2 separate regions of the Homo sapiens genome follow, and region 1 is linked to region 2. Evidence: promoter capture Hi-C in 16 types of primary human blood cells and fetal thymus (Javierre and others, 2016). All regions are on one chromosome and are shown on one strand. Each heading gives the region's core, a stretch centred on a gene start or on the middle of the fragment in contact. The rest is flanking DNA. Distances are from core to core; before and after follow the strand shown. Region 1 has its middle 17 kb from the start of INCENP. Region 2 holds the start of DAGLA (diacylglycerol lipase alpha).

What was found. The method cuts DNA at HindIII sites, captures the fragments that hold promoters and counts their contacts. A CHiCAGO score of 5 or more calls a contact.
Region 1: a fragment that was not itself captured here is called in contact with the fragment with the promoter of DAGLA in region 2 in 5 of 17 cell types (activated CD4 T cells, non-activated CD4 T cells, naive CD8 T cells and 2 more); the score reaches 6.8 in activated CD4 T cells.

What each region holds. Positions count from the first base shown.
Region 1 is chr11:62,104,898-62,108,536 of GRCh38, reverse strand. No RefSeq gene overlaps it. Among named protein-coding and RNA genes, the nearest start is that of INCENP, 17 kb to the left of the region's middle. The HindIII fragment of the contact is 3,979 bases long and covers 306-3,639 here.
Region 2 is chr11:61,678,301-61,681,759 of GRCh38, reverse strand. DAGLA (diacylglycerol lipase alpha) reads right to left here and starts at 1,369. Exons shown (of 20, transcript NM_006133.3): 1 at 1,256-1,369. The HindIII fragment of the contact is 3,213 bases long and covers 464-3,459 here.

The sequences.
Region 1 (3,639 bases), core at 1,046-3,545, 430 kb before region 2:
GTGGGAGGCAAACCAAACATGAGGTGGTATCTTGCTTTCCCTGCCACAGAAGGACGGGTCATGGTAGTTCCCCAGCAACTCCAGAAATAGCTGGAGCTCGTGCAGCCTAATGAAACTGTGGTGCAGTGGCGTGGGCCCCGGACTTGGAACAAAAAGCCCTGGGGCACCTACGTGACTTAGAGGACCAGTGTCCCCATCTGCAGAATGAGGGCATTAAAACATGTTAAAACATAAAAATGAAGGTGGCTTCTTAAGGTCCCTCCACCGCCAAAGATGAATTCTTTCAGCAACAGGGCAGTCAAGCTTTAATCTGAATTTATAAATGAGCACCATACTGTAAATCCACTAGGGGGCAGTAACTGTTCGCATTTGGATCCACTGATCCGCAGGCCTTGAACTACCATGACACCTTTATTAGGAAAGCAAGAGGCAGGTGGGTGGGATAAGGAATCTGGTTTTCCCCTCCATACCAAGCTACAATAAAGCCTTATGAATCGTGGCCATTTGGGGCAATAAAAAAATGAGTATTTTGTTGTTTTCTGCATCAGCTTGAATTTCCCTGGATTTTACCCTTTACCCATGAGGATGGATCTCTTTTTCTTTTTCTTTTTTCTTTCAGACAGTTTCACTCTGTCACCCAGGCTGGAGTGCAGTGGTGCAATCTCACCTCACTGCAACTGTCGCCTCCCAGGTTCAAGCGATTCTCCTGCCTCAGCCTCCCAAGTAGCTGGAATTACTGGCATGTGCCACCACGCCCGACTACTTTTTGTATTTTTAGTAGAGACGAGGTTTCACCATGTTGGCCAGGCTGTTCTGGAACTCCTGACCTCAAGCGATCCGCCTGCCTCAGCCTCCCAAAGTGCTGGGATTACAGGTGTGAGCCACCGTGCCCGGCCTCATCTCTTTTTCTTAATATGTTACTTGTTAAGTTTCAGAATTTCAGACCTGAAGGGACCCTTTGCAGTTGTGGTGAGTAGCTAGCTCAAGGCAATGGCAAGTAAATGGCAGGACCAGGAATACAAACCATCAAGTCTATTTTCTCAGCTGTATGATGAGACGTGATCTCTGAAGTTCCTTTAGGTCTAAGAGTCTGGCTCTCTGGTCTTCATTATCCAGACTGATTTCTGCTTCCCTGTGGTGGATCTAAGCATTAAATTGGGCTGGTAGGTTGACTTTTCTGAATATGGAGAGCTGGATTATCTAAAACTTTCTCATCAGAATGGAATTTAATTAAATCTTATTAAATCCATTGTATCACATTAAATCTCAAGTTGCATTCATTAAAATGGTAGTTCTCTGGACTTTTGGATTTCACAGAGTAGCAAAATTTGCAAATACGTTTAAGCATTGAGTTAATTTTATTAAGTAAATATGTATGGGTTTTTTTTTAACACCTATCTCTTATTATCCTACTATTATAAAAGACATTTAAACTCAAAAAGAAGAGGGCATGCAATCTCAGAATACGTCAAAGTGACACAAATAAATTCCTTTATGAGGCCAGGCACGGTGGTTCACACCTGTAATCCCAGCACTTTGGGAGGCCGAGGCGGGCGGATCACCTGACGTCAGGAATTAGAGACCAGCCTGGCCAACATGGTGAAACCCTATCAATACTAAAAATACAAAAATTAGCTAGGCATGGTGGTGGGCACCCATAATCCCAGCTACTCAGGAGGCTGAGGCAGGAGAATCACTTGAACCCAGGAGGTAGAGTTTGCAGTGAGCCAAGATTGCACCACTGCACTCCAGCCTGGGCGACAAGAGTGAAACTCCATCTCAAAAAAAAAAAAATTCCTTTATGAAAAACTCATTGCATTGTTCTTATTTTTCTCGTATTGTACAAATCAGTAAAATCCTTGTCAGCCACTGGATCCAGCCTACAGATCAGCCTTGAGAACGTCTGCTTAAAGCAACTGACAATGTTATAAAAGTTCCTCCACAAAAGAGCTCTGCTGCCTGTGAATGCCTCCTTGAAGAGACAATGAAGGCAGAACACATATCCAAGCTGGGCAAAAGAAAACAGTGGGGGTCAAAAAGTATGTCTTTAAAGCTGCACTTCCAAAGAACTTCCTGAGAGATTTGTAATTTCTATTTCTGTATGATAAAACACTATTGGTGAGGCATGGTTGTTCATGCCTGTAATCCCAGCATTTTGAGAGGCCAAGGTGGGCGGATCACCTGAGGTCAGGAGTTCAAAACAAGTCTGGCCAACATGGTGAAACCCCGTCTCTACTAAAAATTAAAAAAAAAATTAAAAAAAAAATTAGCCAGGCATGGTGGTGCATGCCTGTATTCCTAGCTACATGGGAGGCTGAGGCAGGAGAATCGCTTGAACCCGGGACGGGGAGGTTGCAGTGAGCCGAGATCATGCCACTGCATTCCAGCCTGGGTTATGGAGCAAGACTCCCGTCTCATAGGAAAAAAAAACAAACAAAAAAACCCTACATTCTTAAGGCCTAAAATGTACTAAAAATAAAACAGGAAAACAAAAATGGGGGTAGGGTTCCTTCTGTGAATGCAAACATGCTTGACCAATGAGATGTAGTTGAAAACCTAGACCACTGGTACAGACTGAATTGTGTGGACTCTCCATACTCACATACAGCAGATGCAGAGAAGGGCACAGAGGGAGGGAGTGATAAATCTGAAGATAAATGGAGAATTCAGAATTCTCGCTTTGATGTACTCAGTGGCTTTTTGGCAAACCGTCTAATCCCAGTCTGCAGTTTGAAAGAACACGCTATAATTGTTAGCAGCACCCACTCAGATAATGCTGGAACTTGTTTGTAAATAAAGTTCCAGCTTTGACAAACCACATGCTCCTCACAGCCATTTATGCACTTTGCTTCATCTGTCTCTTATACTGTCTGAGAAAAAAATAGAGATGGGGGGTCTCACTATGTTGCTTAGGCTGGACCCGAACTCCTGGACTCCAGCCCATCCACCTGTCACAGGGTGAACCCCCACATTGGAGTTCAGCCCAGGAGGCGACGTGAGTTCTTGGCTTTGCACAGGAAGGAATTCAAGAGTTAACAGAGTAAAGTGAAAGCAAGTTTATTTTAAAAGTAAAGGAGTAAGAGTGGCTATGCCATCGGAAGAGCAGCCGTGAGAGTTGCAGGTTGCTATTTTTATGTTTGTTTCTTGCTCACATGCTAAACAAGGGTGGCTTATTCATGAATTTTCCAGGAAAAGGTCAGAGAATTCCCAGAAATGAGAGTTCCTCCCCTTTTTAGACCATATAGGGTAACTTCCGGATGTTGCCATGGCGTATGTAAGCTGTCGTGTTTCTGGTGGGAGTTTCCTTCACCATGGACAAATCATGGATTATGATTAGTGTATAATGAGCGGTGAGAGGACCAAGGGTCGCTTTCATCACCATCTTGGTTTTGGGGGGTTTTGGCTGGCTCCTTTACCACATCCTGTTTTATCAGGGGGGTCCTTGTGACCTATGTCTTGGGAAACAAGTCCTGCCAAACTCCTATCACACCCCCACCTCAGCATCCCAATAGCACAGAGTGCCCTTGTCTGCATTTGCCACATGTGAGTAGTCACCTGTATTAGTTCATTCCCACACTGCTATGAAGAAATACCTGAGACTGGGTAACTTATATAAAGGAAAGAGGTGTTTTGTTGTTG
Region 2 (3,459 bases), core at 120-2,619:
AGAGAGGACAGACAGAGCCCTTGGAAAGGAATTTAAGCCTGGGGGTGGGAGTCCCGGTGGCCCCAGCAGATTCCCAGTGGCTGCAGAATCATCTTTCAAGCATACCCCAATCGATCCAATCCTCTGGACCCAAAGGCTCCCCAGCATCAAAGAAGAGAGGCAACTCCCAGATACCCTGGAGTGAACCCATCAACCCAGGGAGAAGGCAGGACCCCGTGACTACAGATAGATGGTGCGCCATACCACTCCCTCACTCGCTGACCCGGGTTACCTCTTGGTCCTGCTTGCTTCTCAGGACATATTCTGGGACACCGATCACCACTGAAAATCATCCACCCCTCCCTTCATTCCCAAAGCTAGATGAAAAGCTAGATGAATGGTTCTCTCTACCTTAGCCCAGGACAACGGTAGTGCCTGGAAGGTCTCTATCTGGGTTACCATCAGGGCCCTTGTGGTAGAAGCTTCTCCTGGCATCTCTTGTTTATGCCCATTATAAAGGACACCAACCTTCTCCCAGCCTTCTGCCCTCCTCAGTCCAGTGTACCCAACAGGCATTAAAACTGGACCCCCATGACAGAGGCAGTGTCCCCTTCATCGCCCGTGAGGAAGGATGGGCATTTACCCTTCCCATTCATCAGGATGGGAGGGCCACGGACTCCCCCCGCGGCAGTGCCGGGTAGCCCCCCGCACCACACCGTGCCAAGGCCCTTTCTCACAGTCATGCCAGGAACTCTAGCCATGCTGAGAACACCAATTCTTCAAGCCCCCAGTGCTATCACCCCAGATCATGTCAAGCCCAAGGCCAGAACCATCCCAACACCCAAGCAATGGCAGCACTTCCTCACACCCATGCTAGCGGCACCACCATGCCGGCACGAGCTGGCCACCTATCCCATAACCAGTCCGAAGGCCGTGCCCATCACCTACCTGTGCAGACAGCTGCACCACCTCACACCTGCGTGGCCACCACCGCACCAAGGTGGAGGCGAGTCTTCTGAGACCCGTTCCAGGAAAACCACGCCGCCTGTGCCGGACCCACGTTGCCCACGCCCGTGCCACGCGTGTCACCATCCCCACGCTGGTGCCAGGGGCTCCACAGACCTCACACCTGCCACGGGCGCGCGTGGCAGCTGCAACTCCGCCCGCCGACCCGTCGGGCCGGCCACCGCGCGCCCTGGACACTGCCCAGCCCGCCGCGCCGCTCGCACCGCGCCCGCGCCCAGGACCGGCCCGCCGCGCCGGAGGCCCCCCTTACCTCCCGCCCGCCGCAGGGCTCGGCCCGCCGCCGCGACCGCCACCTCCATCCTGGGCTCCCCAAGGCCCCGATTCACTAACGCCGCTTCCGCAGGGCGCCGGCGCCGGCGCGAAGGCCGCCTCCGCCCCCCGGGGGACGCTGCGTCCTTTACGTAAACCCCTCTCCGCCGCCAGCGGTGACCATGGCGACGGTCGTGGGGAGGCAGCGCCCCCTGGCGCCAGGGAGGGGAGCGGCGTCGAGGCCAGGGAGAGCCGAGTCTTCCGCGGGCGCCGGCCCTGCGCGTGGGGGCGGTGGGCGCCTGGCTCAGGCTCGGCTGGGGTCCCGTGGGCGGCCGGGAGGGGCTGGACTGGCCGCGATGCGTGCGGGGAAGGGAGCCGCCTGGGTGCCTGCCCCTCCTTTAGGTCCCTCGTGACCAGTTTTAGCGTGGGAGAGGGAAAAAAGGAAGTAGGATCACTGGAGAACTGGTTCATTTGTGGGGAGGAGAGAGACGGGTCCCACCTCCTCGGGGTGACTGAACTCTGCTTGAGAAGTCAGAGCATGGCTAGAGTTCCTGGCGTGACTGTGAGAAAGGGCCTTGGCACGGTGTGGTGCAGGGGTCTACCCGGCACTGCCGTGGGGGGAGTCCGTGGCCCTCCCATCCTGATGAATGGGAAGGGTAAATGCCCATCCTTCCCCACGGGCGACAGAGCCCGTGGGTACCCTGGGTACCCCCTCCTCCCTACCACCCCCCCACCCCCCACCCCTACCCCCGTTCCCAGTGCCCAGCATCGTGCCTGGTCTCCAAAGGGGTTTACTTGGTCAATTTTGAATTTCTGGTAAATGAAGAAAACCGCCCCTCCTGTTCCCCTTCACGCCCTTTCATTCACCGTAAGTCGCTTACACCTCCCTGGGAGCACTGTGCTGAACTGGGGGAGTGGAGCACAGAGAGGAGCAGAAGGCGGGCCCTGACTTCAAGGAGCTCATTCTGCTGGGGAGGAGACGCAGATGGAGGGGGTTTTAACACAGAAGCTAAGCCGAGAGGACAGACAGAGCCCTTGGAAAGGAATTTAAGCCTGGGGATGGGAGTCCAGTCTGCAGGTCGGGATGACTCAGCTGGGTCCCAAAGATCCAGTAAAGATTCATCAGAGACAAAAAGGGGAAGAACGTTTTCTTTCAGGCAAGAGAAGTGCCTCTAAAATGTTTCCTAGGCCCTGTTGCCACCCCCAAAATCACAGTGATCGCGCAGTTCAGTAGAAGTGGGAGCCATAGGTGAACAAGGAGGTGTGGGTAGTGGGGTGCCCGGCTTGAGCAGAAGCCTCGGTCTGAAAATTACGTGGACATTTGGGTTGGAAATGAGACTGTGAGGCCAGGACTGCCTTTTATTGAAGCAGATGGAGCCACTTCTGGAAGGAGTTCTGTGTTACCTGTGATTATTTAGAAAGCAAACTCACGTAGGTAACAAGGAAAATGAGGAGTGGGCGCATATACCCAGTGGGGCACCTCAGGGGATTCAAGGAGGAGTTGAATTCCTCAAGGCTCAGGAAGGGCAGAGATCAGGGGAGGCTTTAAGGGACAACTGTAGCAGTATCAGTTTAGGGATCTTCTTTCTAGATCATTGCCATTAATCAGAATCAAAACTGCCAGATTGGATGTCTCTTGGTTCAAAGTTCCCGATTCCCAGAAAAAAAGAATCTTATTAGTCCAGATCAGGCCACGGTCAATCAGCTATGGCCAGGGCAGAAAGTGCTTTGTGATACAAACATGTCAGTCCACTTTTCCCCGTTGAGAGACACTCCCAGAGGAGGAGAATCATGACCTGAACAGCCAGTCCAAAGACTGTCGGCCAGGGGCGGTGGCTCATGCCTGTAATCCCAGCACTTTGGGAGGCAGAGGCAGGTGGATCACCTGAGGTCAGGAGTTCGAGACCAGTCTGGCCAACATGGTGAAACCCTATCTCTACCAAAGTACAAAAATTAGCCTGGCATGATGGCAGGTGCCTGTAATCCCAGCTACTCGGGAGGCTGAGGCGGAAGAATCACTTGAACGTGGGAGGCAGAGGTTGCAGTGAGCCGAGATCGTGCCATTGCACTCTAGCCTGGGCAAGAGAGCCAGACTCCATCTCAAAAAAAAAAAAAAAAAAAGGCTGTCTACTACGGATCCATCCCTTAGCTGTCCCATGTACACAAACTCACATGTGTCCATGTGCACACATGTGTCCCGACACA